Regions from separate parts of the Homo sapiens genome. Here region 1 is linked to region 2. The links are contacts of gene promoters, found by promoter capture Hi-C in blood cells and fetal thymus (Javierre and others, 2016). All regions are on one chromosome and are shown on one strand. The core of a region is centred on a gene start or on the middle of the fragment in contact, and the rest is flanking DNA. Distances in the headings are between cores, read along the strand shown.

Region 1 (5,627 bases), core at 1,100-3,599, about 19 Mb after region 2:
TAGGGGGAGCGCGGGAGCATTGAGTCGGGGGCGGAGAGCCTGGGGCGCCGGGGCTGGGCGCAGCGCGGCGCGGCTGGACTCCGGGCGCGGTGGCGCCGTTGAGAGAGACGCGCAGCTCGCGAAATGCCCCGCGGCTAAGGCCTTCGGAGACCATAGTCTCCGCGGACCCCTGGCTGGAGCCCAAAGCCGGCCGGACCTCCTCCCTGCGTCTCCCCTTCCGCGGCTCGGAGAGGAAGGCAGGAGAGCCCCCAAATATTCCCCTCCCGCCCCCTAGGGAAACTGAAGCTGAAAGAGCCAGCGAAAGAAAAAAAAAGTCTCGGAGTGGGGCGGCCCGAGCGACCTAAGGGACGGGGCAGCGCCAGCGACCGAGGGAAATTAGTCGGGGTGGGGGAACAGGGAGACAAGCCCCCAGAATTTAGGAAACTCCTAAATTCTACTAAAAATACAAAAATTACCTGGGCATGGTGGCGGGTGCCTGTAATCCTAGCTACTGAGGAGGCTGAGGCAGAAGAATCGCTTGAACCCCTGAGGTGGAGGTTGCAGTGAGCCAAGATTGCGCCATTGTACTCCAGCCTGGGCTGCAAGAGTGAGACTCCTTCTCAAAAAATAAAATAAAATAAATCAAGAAAAGTCTGGAAACCATGCCAACTGGTGAAATGAATAAAGAAATAAATGTTGTCTGGACTGAGTGGCTCACACCTCTAATCCCAGTACTTTGGAGGCCGAGGCGGGCAGATCACTTGAGGCCAGGAGTTCAAACCAGTCTGGGCAACATGGTGAAACCCTGTCTTTTCTACAATTGCAAACAAATTAGCCGGACGTGGTGGTGCATGCCTGTAATCCCAGCTACTCGGGATGCTGAGGCCCGAGAATCGCTTGAACCTGGGAGGCAGAGGTTGCAATGAACTAAGATAACGCCACTGCACTCCAGCCTGGGTGACAGAATGAGACTAGGTCTCAAAAAAAAAATTATAATTCAGTAACATAGTCAGTTACAAGATAAACATTGAGCCTGCCTCCTAGGTTCAAGCGATTCTCATGACTCAGCCTCCCGAGTTGCTGAGATTACAGGCGTGTGCCACCATGCCTGGATAATTTTTTGTACTTTTAGTGCAGACGGTGTTTCACCATGTTGGTCAGGCTGGCCTCCAACTCCTGACCTCAAGTAATCCACCCACCTCAGTCTTCCAAAGTGCTGGGATTACAAGCGTGAGCCACTGTGCCCGGCCTCAATTTGGGTTTTTATGGAAGCTTCATTACAGAGTCATTAATGATTACACCGTTGGCCGTTGGTGGTCAGCTTAACCTTCAGCCTCTCTCTCTTTCTCAGAGGTTGAGAGTGGCACTGAAAGCCCTGACCACCAGCCCCAATCCTGAGGCTGTCTAGGAAAGCCTAATCAGTCAATCATTAGCATAAAAAAAAGACTTATTTTGCAGATTCTGAGGGTTTTAGGAATTGTATGCCAGGAACCAGGAAGATCAAATACGTGTTTCACAGTCTCACAGGACCACATAGAGGAGATTGGTCATCAGTGTTTCTCAACAGAAGCGCTTTGGCCTTTTGGACAAGCCAGTTTACACACTGTAGGAAGAAGTTTAGCATCTCTGGGCCCGGATACCAAAGGCTAGTACCAGCCTCATCATTTTTACAACCAAAAAGGTAACCTTGCCCGCTCCCCATACATTCCCACTAGGAGGTGTCAGAACCACTTCCGGCTGAGAACCACTGGAATACATTTTGGAATATCCAAAAAATGTACTTCCATTTTAAGAAAATAATGTGGGATTGGTGTTTTTCATTTTTTAATTATTTGGAGGAAATTGCCAATGACAAGTGCTTGAACAAAAAATCCAAATTACAGACTAGTGTATATATAGTGTGATGTATCCATTCAATTCACTCAGGAAATGTTTATTTAACACTTAAGGTGTGCCATGCACTGTTTCCATTCCACATTCTGTACAGAGTGGGAAAATATTTGTAGTTTATATCCTTTATATGTAAATAAATAGGTCAGTTGCACTTCAAAGCCAACAAATAAAAGTGATCTCTAAATCTAAACCCCAAAGACAATCATTTTTAAACAACTTTAGAATATATCTTGTATATATTGTTTTAATGCATGTGTTCATATATAAACACATTTTATACAAAAACAATCTAATGAGGAAGAAAAATTATACTTTGGGAAAGAAGGAGCCGGGTGCAATGGTTCACGTCTGTAATCCCAGCACTTTGGGAGGCCAAGGGAGGTGAATCACATGGCGCCAGGAGTTCAAGACCAGCCTGGCTGACATAGTGAAACCCCATCTCTACAAAAATACAAACATTAGCTGGGCGTGGTGGCGCACACCTGTAGTCCTGGCTACTCCGGAGACTCAGGCAAGAGAATCGCTTGAACCTAAAAGGCAGAGGTTGCAGTGAGGCGAGATCGCGCCACCACATTCCAGCCTGGGCGACAGAGTGAGACTCTGTCTCAAAAACAAAAACACATTATTGCTAAGGTAATTTGCTTTTGAGTTCAAGACCAGCCTGACCAACATGAGGAAACTCCGTCTCTGCTAAAGTTTCAAATATGTATAAGTACTGGCATATTTTAAAAATACATTTTATTTTCTTTTTAGTTTATAAGATATGTGATTCCTTCTTTACATCTACCTATTTTTATTTCTGCCTCTTTTTTTAAATAGGGTTAATTTTTTTTTTTTAAATGGAGTCTTGCTCTGTTGCCCAGGCTGGAGGGCGTAGGGCTGCCTCTGCTCACTGCAATCTCCGCTTCCCGGGTTGGAGCAATTCTCCTGCCTCAGCCTCCTGAGTATCTGGCATTACAGGCACCTGCCACCATGCCCAGCTTTTTTTGTATTTTTAGTAGAGACGGGGTTTCACCATGTTAGCCAAGCTGGTCTTGAACTCCTGACCTCAAGTGATCCTCCCTCCTCAGCCGCTCAAAGTGCTGGGATTACAGGTGTGAGCCACCATGCCCGGCCTGTCAAATTGCTCTATAATTTCATTTGGAGTGAATTCAGATTAGACCATTGATTTTATTGGCTTTTTTTTTTTTTTGCTTTTTGAGAAGCAGGGCCTTATTCTTTTTCCTAGGCTGCAGTGCAGTGGTGCAATCACACCCCATCGCAGCCTCCCCCTACCCAGATCAGTAAGTCCTTCCGCCTCAGGCTCCCAAGTAGCTGGGACTACAGGCGCGTGCCCTGCCACCATCTCTGGCTAATTTTGGGGTGTTTTTTGTTGTTATTGTTGTTGTCATTGTTTTTTTGTAGAGACAAGGTTTTGCCATGTTGCCCAGGCTGGTCTCAAACTCCTGGGCTCAAGCAAGTGATCTTCCTTCCTTGACTTCCCAAAGTGCTGGGATTATAGGCATGAGCCACCGTATGGGCCCTGGTTATCTTTTTTTCATATTACACATTTTCATTTTCAAACATTTGAATTTTGCAAGCTTATTTTGAGTGAGAGGAGTGTTGTTTTCTTCTCTCCTGAAGCCCAGTGTAGCCCAGTCAACCCTTAACTTCCAGCAGGGAGCCAGCGCTTATCACTGCCTCACACACAGCATGTTAGCCTCCCTTATCCCCGAGAAACTCATACTGTTAGTGTTCAGCCACCACTTCCTCCTTCTGCATCTGGAGTCTAGAAGGCCTGCAGTTTTAGTCCTGCTCACAGTTTTGTGTCTGTTCCGTTGAGATTGTTGTAACTTATTTAAGCATGACTATGTCTTTTCAATTTCTCTTTTTTATATTTTACTCTCACTTGTATGTTCTTGAAGGGAGAGGGAGGATCAAAGTGTGCGCCCGCTATACCATCTTGGTTTTCCCAAAATCTGTCCCACGATGTTATAAAAATATATGAACTAGGAAATGAAACTCAAGGTTTTCTTTCTAACCAAGGAAGAAGTTCAGTCTCTCTCTATAAATAGAGAAGGGCTGTTGAATAATTTGTCACATTGCTTCTCTTTTGACTTTATAAGACTAGATAGTCTATAGACAGAGAAACAGTTTCATTAAACCAGGGCCATTCAGGTTTATTTGGTAAAATATTTGTGATATATTTAAAAGCTTCCTGAGGTACTCATGTAATGATTGTTACTAGTATAATTGGTGCATAGGGCTGGGTGACCCTGCAAAAAAAGAGGCACAGCAAACTTTATTTCAGGTACAGATGGACCTTACCTTTAGGCAAATCCTTGAAATTTTGGCGTGGGGAATCAGGTTTTTCTGTGGGTTTTTTGTTTGTTTTTGGCTTTTCATAGACAGCTATATGAAGTCTCTGCTTTAGAATCTATAAAACTATAGCTTCAGAGGCTGGGCGAAATGGCTCATGCCTATAATCCCAGCACTTTGGGAGGCTGAGGTGAAAGGATCACTTGAGGTCAGGAGATCGAGACCAGCCTGGCTAACAGGGCGAAACCCCGTCTGTACTAAAAATGCAAAAATTAGCCAGGCATGGTGGCAGGCACCTGTAATCCCAGCTGCTTGGGAGGCTGAGGGAGGAGAATCACTTGAACCCAGAAGGCGGAGGTTGCAGTGAGCCGAGATCATGCCACTGCACGACAGAGCGAGACTCCATGTCGAAACAAAAAACTGTAGCTTCAGAGATTCACTTAAATTATCATTTATAGGCCAAGAGAGTTGTGGCTCACAGCCTGTAATCCCAGCATTCTAAAAGGCTGAGGTGGGTGGATCACTTGAGGCCAGGATTTTGAGACCAGCCTGGGCAACATGGCAAAACCCTGTTTCTACAAAAAGGAATTTGCTGGGTGTTGTGATGCACACCTGTAGTCTCAGCTACTTGGCGAGGCTGAGGCCAGGGGACTGCTTGACCCCAGGAGGTCGACCCTGCAGTGAGCCATGATAGCACCACTGTACTCTAGCCGGGGCGATCAAGTGAGGCCCTATCTCCAAAAAAAAGTTTTGTTTTGTTTTGTTTTAACAGGGTCTCACTTTGTCATCTACATTGGAGCACAGTGGTGCCATCACAGCTCACTGAAGTCTTCACCTCTCAGGCTTAAGGGAGCCTCCAACCTCAGCCTTCCAAGTAGTTGGCACTACAGGCATGCGTCACCACACCTGGCTCATTTTTGTATTTTTTAGTAGAGATGGGGTTTCACCATGTGTCCAGGCTGGTCTTGAGCTCCTGGACGCAAGTGATCTTCCGCCCTCGGCCTCCCAAACTGCTGGGATTACAGGTGTGAGCCACTGTGCTGGACGAATTTTTTTAAAGAAGGAAAAATAAAATTAATTCGGCCCTTCATTAAAAAAATTAAAAACTCTTTAAAGGAAACGTGGGCTAAGTTATTTTTCTGAGAGACTATAAGATTTGGGAAGAAAAATAATCATGATGAAACGTTTTGGGAATATTTTTGGTATTTAAAATTATTGTAGAAATTTATAAATGTGTCAGATTTTGGCTGGGCACAGTGGCTCACACTTGTAATCCAAGCACTTTGGGAGGCCAAGGTGGGCAGACCACCTGAGGTCGGGAGTTCGAGACCAGCCTAGCCAACATGGTGAAACCCTATCTCTAAAAGAATTTTTAAAAAAATTTTAAGTCAGATTTTAAGAAATATTCTTATGGCTGGGTACAGGTGGCTCATAACTGTCATCCCAGCACTTTGGGA
Region 2 (6,252 bases), core at 1,805-4,304:
CCCTATATCCTCGACAAAGCTTGTGATTGTCTGGGTTTTGTGACAAAGTGGGTGTGCTGGTTCTTGTTTTTTAAAAGATCCACGACTCCCTGCGTGGAGAACAGGGCCTGGAGTGAGGGTCTAGGTTGCCCATTCGTTGCTGGGGGGCCAGAAAGGGTTTTACTGTCACAGCCCTCCTGTGGCCTACAGGCGAGCCTCCCTCTCCTAACCACCCTCCTGCCAACCTCCCCTTTGAAATGGGAGCACTCGGAAGGGACAGCTGGCAGCCTCCTCCCCTGGGCTCTGCCTGCTTCTCCTCACACCGGCTGGTGGTTTGTTTGCCAGTCACTTGTATTTGTTCCTGAACATGTTTCTGACAGTTCACTTGTCATTGTAATTACTGTCGTAATCTAACTAAATGTTATATTACTGATGAATCAGAAGTGCACTAACAAGGAGAGATGTTTCTTATGAAAATTCAGTCTAATGCTTTGAAGGATACTTTACAAATGAGTCACCAAAAATATTGGCAAATTAGGTGTGGGTGAGATGAGTGTAAATAACTGGGTGAGAGAGAATTGTCAGAATCTCAGATGGGTTCCACTTGCTGACCACTTCACATGGCCCTTTAAACTCACCCTCCACTTCAAAGAATCCACAGCTGATGTTGGAGATGATGTTTCATCCCTGTGGATTTCCCAAGGAAAGCAGTTTGGGACTGCAAGAGATGGACCCGTAATAGAAGGAGAGGCCTTGACAGGCACGGTGGCTCACGCCTGTAATCCCAGCACTTTGGGGGACCAAGGTGGCTGGATCACCTGAGGCCAGGAGTTTGAGACCAGCCTGGCTAACATGGTGAAACCCCATGTCTACTAAAAATACAAAAATTAGCCAGGTATGGTGGTGGGCGCCTATAATCTCAGCTACTTGGGAGGCTGAGGCAGGAGAATCGCTTGAACTTGGGAGGTGGAGGTTGCAGTGAGCCAAGATTGTGCCACTGCACTCCAGCCTGCCTAGGGGACAGAGTGAGACTCCATCTCAAAGAGAAAAGAAGGAGAGTCCTTGAGAAAGATCAGTGATTGGCCAGGCACAGTGGCTTGTGCCTGTAATCTCAGCACCTCGGGAGGCTGAGGTGGGCGATTCACTTAAGGCCAGGAGTTCGAGACCAGCCTGGGCAAAATGGTGAGACACCATCTGTACTAAAATCACAAAAATTAGCTGGGCATGGTGGCACACACCTGTAATCCCAGCTACTCGGGAGGCTGGGTCGGGGGAGAATTGCTTGAAACCAGGAGGTGGAGTTTGCAGTGAGCTGAGATCGTGCCACTGCACTCCAGCCGAGCAACAGAGCAAGACCCTGTCTCAAAAAAAAAAAAAAAAAAAAATCAGCATGCTTACTCCTTAGAGGTTAAAATTACATGTGTGTTGTGGGGCTGCCCACAATTGTGCCCCCAAATAGGCATGTTGAAGTCCTAAACCCCAGTACCTGTTAATGCGACCTTATTTGGAAGTAGGGTGTTTGCAGACATAATCAAGTTAAGATGGTGTCATTAGGGTGGGCCCTAATCCATTATAACTATGTCTTTATAAAGAAGAGAAGAGACACAGAGACACACAGGGAGAATGCCATGTGACAACCTATGCAGAGACTGGAGTGACAGGCCAGGCCAGTGGGGAGAACATGAGGACAATGGAACCTGGACTGCCAAGCTCCAGCCCCCAAATCCCTCCCTTCTGGTTCCGGAGGCCCCAGGGTTACTCTCCCGCACACTAACTGCTTTGAAAACCTCATTCCTCAAATCTACTCCATCATGGGTGGCCTGAAGAAGCCTGGACAGGAGGTCCTGGGTGACCTGTGAGGGCATACACCACAGAGCTGGGTGCAAACCTGCAGAGCCAAAACCTGGGGCTCCTGGCTTCAAATCCACCTCTCACCAGTATTTGAGTTCTCTTTCCAGCGGAAAGTCTGCCCGGCCTCAGAGTTGCAGCCAGGAGAGTGGCTCAGAATCCAGCATGAAAACATTTGGAAGACATCAAGGTCCATTTAACCAGCACAAGAGCCCCAGCCTTCTTTGCTGTGTCAATGTGGGCTTCTCCAAGCCTCAGTTTTACTTATCCATGAAGTGGGTGTATTAAGGTAACGTTAAGTGGCTATAACAAAGAGACTCATGACAAATCAATGCCTTAAGGAAGATCATGTCTCTCTCTTGTAACAGTCCATAGTGCACATCCTGGGCTACTGTTCCACATGGAATCCAGGGACCTGGTTCCCTTCACTTTCTTCCTCTCCATTCCTTAGGACATTGTCCTCCTCGTCATAGACAGACACATCACAGGCCCGTCCTTGTTCTGACTCCTGAGAAAGGGAAAGAGAGGGTAAACCAGGAGCCCCACGGTCTGTCAGCCTAAGCCCCTGATGTAAAGAGTTCACATCATTTTTGCTTAATTTCTCCTGGTCACCTGTCCGTTCCCAACTGTAAATGGAGTTGGAGGTGAATTCTGGTCATGTGCCTGGTAGAAATGGGGACCAACTTTGAGGGACAGCCTCAGGCTGTGCAGATATAATGACACCTCCTTGCAACTGTGCAATAGGTACAGCTAGGGTACCTGGCGCCTAGTAAGCCCTCGGTAAAAGTGCTCAATGTTACTGAGCTCAGAGCTCCAAGGGACCTTAGAAACTCTCTGGCCCAACGTCCTCATTTCTTTACAGCTAAAGAAACAGGCCTAGAGAGGAGTGACATTGGCCTGTGTTCCCCATGGGTAAGGAGAAAAGTTGGTTCAGAATCCTATCTGGCCTGCAAACCCCATGCTCACACCTTTTATTTCAAAGTACCTGGTCTAAACCCACTAGGGTCTGGGCAGAGAGCAGGGTCCATATGACCTCTCCCCTGGTCTCCCAGGGTTGGGGGGCATCATTCTAGAGGGACCCTGTGCCCCACAGCAGCGCCCTCGGCTGGGGACCACACAGCTTTATGACTAGGTAGGTGTGGCCCTGGTTTCCAGGACAGGTGGCCAGACTGCTCTGTGACAAAGGGCCACGCCTGCCCCTGGGAGGGGTATTGGGCTGCCGCCCGCAGATGTTGCAGTAGGAACTGAAGAAGATGGCGTGCCTGGGCTTCCTCCTCCCCGTGGGCTTCCTCCTCCTCATCAGCACCGTGGCCGGGGGAAAGTACGGCGTGGCCCACGTGGTGTCGGAGAATTGGAGCAAGGACTACTGTATCCTGTTCAGCTCCGACTACATCACCCTCCCCCGGGACCTGCACCACGCCCCACTCCTGCCCCTGTATGATGGCACCAAGGCACCCTGGTGCCCGGGTGAGGATTCCCCCCACCAGGCCCAGCTCCGCTCCCCCAGCCAGCGGCCCCTCCGCCAGACCACTGCCATGGTCATGAGGGGTAACTGCAGCTTCCACACGAAAGGCTGGCTGGCTCAGGGCCAAGGTGCCCACGGGCTGCTCATCGTGAGCCGGGTCAGTGACCAACAGTGCTCAGACACCACCCTGGCACCCCAGGATCCCCGCCAGCCCCTGGCAGACCTCACCATCCCTGTGGCTATGCTCCACTATGCTGACATGCTGGACATCCTCAGCCACACTCGTGGGGAGGCCGTCGTCCGCGTGGCCATGTACGCACCCCCAGAGCCCATCATCGACTACAACATGCTGGTCATCTTCATCCTGGCTGTGGGCACAGTGGCTGCAGGCGGCTACTGGGCCGGCCTGACCGAAGCCAACCGGCTACAGCGGCGCCGTGCCCGAAGAGGAGGGGGGTCTGGTGGTCACCATCAGCTGCAGGAAGCTGCAGCAGCTGAGGGAGCCCAGAAGGAAGATAATGAGGACATCCCAGTGGACTTCACGCCGGCCATGACAGGCGTGGTGGTCACCCTGTCCTGCTCGCTCATGCTGCTGCTCTACTTCTTCTATGACCACTTTGTCTATGTCACCATTGGGATCTTTGGCCTGGGTGCTGGCATTGGCCTCTACAGCTGCCTGTCACCCCTGGTGTGCCGCCTGTCCCTGCGGCAATACCAGAGGCCTCCGCACAGCCTCTGGGCCTCTCTGCCGCTGCCTCTGCTGCTGCTGGCGAGCCTGTGCGCAACCGTGATCATCTTCTGGGTGGCCTACCGCAATGAGGACCGCTGGGCGTGGCTCCTGCAGGACACACTGGGCATTTCCTACTGCCTGTTCGTCCTGCACCGTGTGCGGCTGCCCACTCTCAAGAACTGCTCCTCCTTCCTGCTGGCCCTGCTGGCCTTTGATGTCTTCTTTGTCTTCGTCACCCCCTTCTTCACCAAAACCGGTGAGAGCATCATGGCGCAGGTTGCCTTGGGCCCTGCAGAGTCTTCAAGCCATGAGAGGCTGCCCATGGTACTCAAAGTGCCCCGGCTAAGAGTCTCCGCCTTGACCCTGTGCAGCCAGCCCTTCTCCATCCTTGGCTTCGGTGACATTGTGGTCCCCGGCTTCCTGGTTGCTTACTGTTGCCGCTTTGATGTGCAAGTCTGCTCCCGTCAGATCTACTTCGTGGCCTGCACCGTGGCCTATGCTGTGGGCCTGCTGGTCACATTCATGGCCATGGTCCTCATGCAGATGGGCCAACCTGCCTTGCTCTACCTAGTGTCCAGCACCCTGCTCACCAGCCTGGCTGTGGCTGCCTGCCGCCAAGAGCTCAGCCTCTTCTGGACTGGCCAGGGCAGAGCTAAGATGTGTGGGCTCGGCTGTGCCCCTTCAGCTGGCTCTAGGCAGAAGCAGGAGGGCGCAGCAGATGCCCACACAGCCAGCACACTTGAGAGAGGCACCAGCCGAGGAGCAGGGGACTTAGACAGCAACCCTGGAGAAGACACCACTGAGATTGTCACCATATCTGAGAATGAAGCCACCAATCCAGAGGACCGCAGTGATAGCTCCGAGGGCTGGAGTGACGCCCACTTGGATCCTAATGAGCTGCCCTTCATCCCCCCTGGGGCCTCGGAGGAGCTGATGCCACTGATGCCAATGGCCATGCTGATCCCACTCATGCCCCTGATGCCCCCGCCCTCAGAGCTGGGCCATGTCCATGCCCAGGCCCAGGCCCACGAGACTGGCCTGCCCTGGGCGGGACTCCACAAGAGGAAGGGTTTGAAAGTAAGAAAGAGCATGTCGACCCAGGCTCCCTTGTGAACTGGAGGCACTGGGACACACGCCTCTCAAAGGGCTGGTGGAACATTGCAGAGCAAAGCCATGCATGGCAACAAGAAATCAGGGTATCAAAGAGATTTCATATCTACCCAAGGAGTCTCTCTGTTTGTCGGGAGTGCAAGAGAGCAGCAACCACATAATAAGAGTGTGCAGGGCTCGAAGGGTCCTTAGGAGTGGGCACCACCCCCAAATAATGAAGGGGGGAAACTGAGGCTCCAAGAGGGCCTATGACTTGCACAAGTTCAAGCGGCAAGGTCGGGATTTGCATCCAGGGCTCACTGGGCAGCTACTCCCCTCTGCCTGCTTGCCCAACCCCTTCCCAATCCAGAGTGGCAGCTTCTTAGCCTGGCACACAGCCCCCATCCCATCCCTGCCACCCACCCTAGGCTCATTGCCCATCTTCTCTCCATGCTCAGGTCAAACAGAACTCCTTGTCCTCCCCACCCGCTCTCTCTGCATATGCTGTTCCCTCCAGCTGGGATGCCCTTCCCTCTCCAGACAGAAACACTCCAGCCTGGCTCCCTGACTCACTAGAAGATTCCGAAGCATCCTTTACTCCTCAGCTCACATCCATTCTGCAAAACGTCTCTGTTCAAGAATCCCAGGCAGCAGCACCAAGCCCAGCAAGTTCCTGTATGCACCACCCATTCCATCTTCAGGCATTGAGTATGCCCCTACTATGTGCATCGCCATGTGGTGGGCACAGGGAAGGCCTCTGTCTAGCTGGGGGAGGGGGAGGGGTGGGCAGACAAGAAACAAACTTAGAATTGTCTCAAAGAGGTCGGGAGGGGTTGGAGAGGTTGGGCCCAGGGTGGAAGAATTCCGGAGACCAAGGCCTCCCTCACTGACTCTAAGTAATGTTCAAGCCTCGTTGGGTCTCTGTAGTCTCATCTGCAAAATGAGACTTATAATACCATTTCCATCTGGAGGCAGGGGCATGGACGAGATGACCTCCTAAGGACTCTACAGGCTTTTAGGCCATGTAGGGTGCTGATGTGTTGCTTAATCAGAGCAGACAAACTCTGGGGTGAGAAGGCTTCCTGGAGGAGGTGTTTTTGGAGGGGAGGAAAGTGTATCCCAAGAGGCGGTGTGGTTCAGT

What was found. Contacts are between HindIII fragments. The CHiCAGO score rates a contact against its expected background, and 5 or more counts as called.
Region 1: a fragment that was not itself captured here is called in contact with the fragment with the promoter of SPPL2C in region 2 in 4 of 17 cell types (endothelial precursors, M0 macrophages, M2 macrophages and 1 more); the score reaches 13.4 in endothelial precursors.

Annotation. Positions count from the first base shown.
Region 1 is chr17:64,919,538-64,925,164 of GRCh38, forward strand. No RefSeq gene overlaps it. Among named protein-coding and RNA genes, the nearest start is that of LRRC37A3, 2.9 kb to the left of the region's middle. RefSeq lists enhancers at 1-266, 342-843, 844-1,343 and a silencer at 1-150. The HindIII fragment of the contact is 2,201 bases long and covers 1,250-3,450 here.
Region 2 is chr17:45,841,827-45,848,078 of GRCh38, forward strand. SPPL2C (signal peptide peptidase like 2C) reads left to right here and starts at 3,055. Exons shown (of 1, transcript NM_175882.3): 1 at 3,055-5,241. The coding sequence starts at 3,081. The coding sequence ends at 5,135. MAPT-AS1 (MAPT antisense RNA 1) reads right to left here. Exons shown (of 2, transcript NR_024559.1): 2 at 1,530-2,335. RefSeq lists enhancers at 2,977-3,961, 3,962-4,945. The HindIII fragment of the contact is 7,159 bases long and covers 18-6,252 here.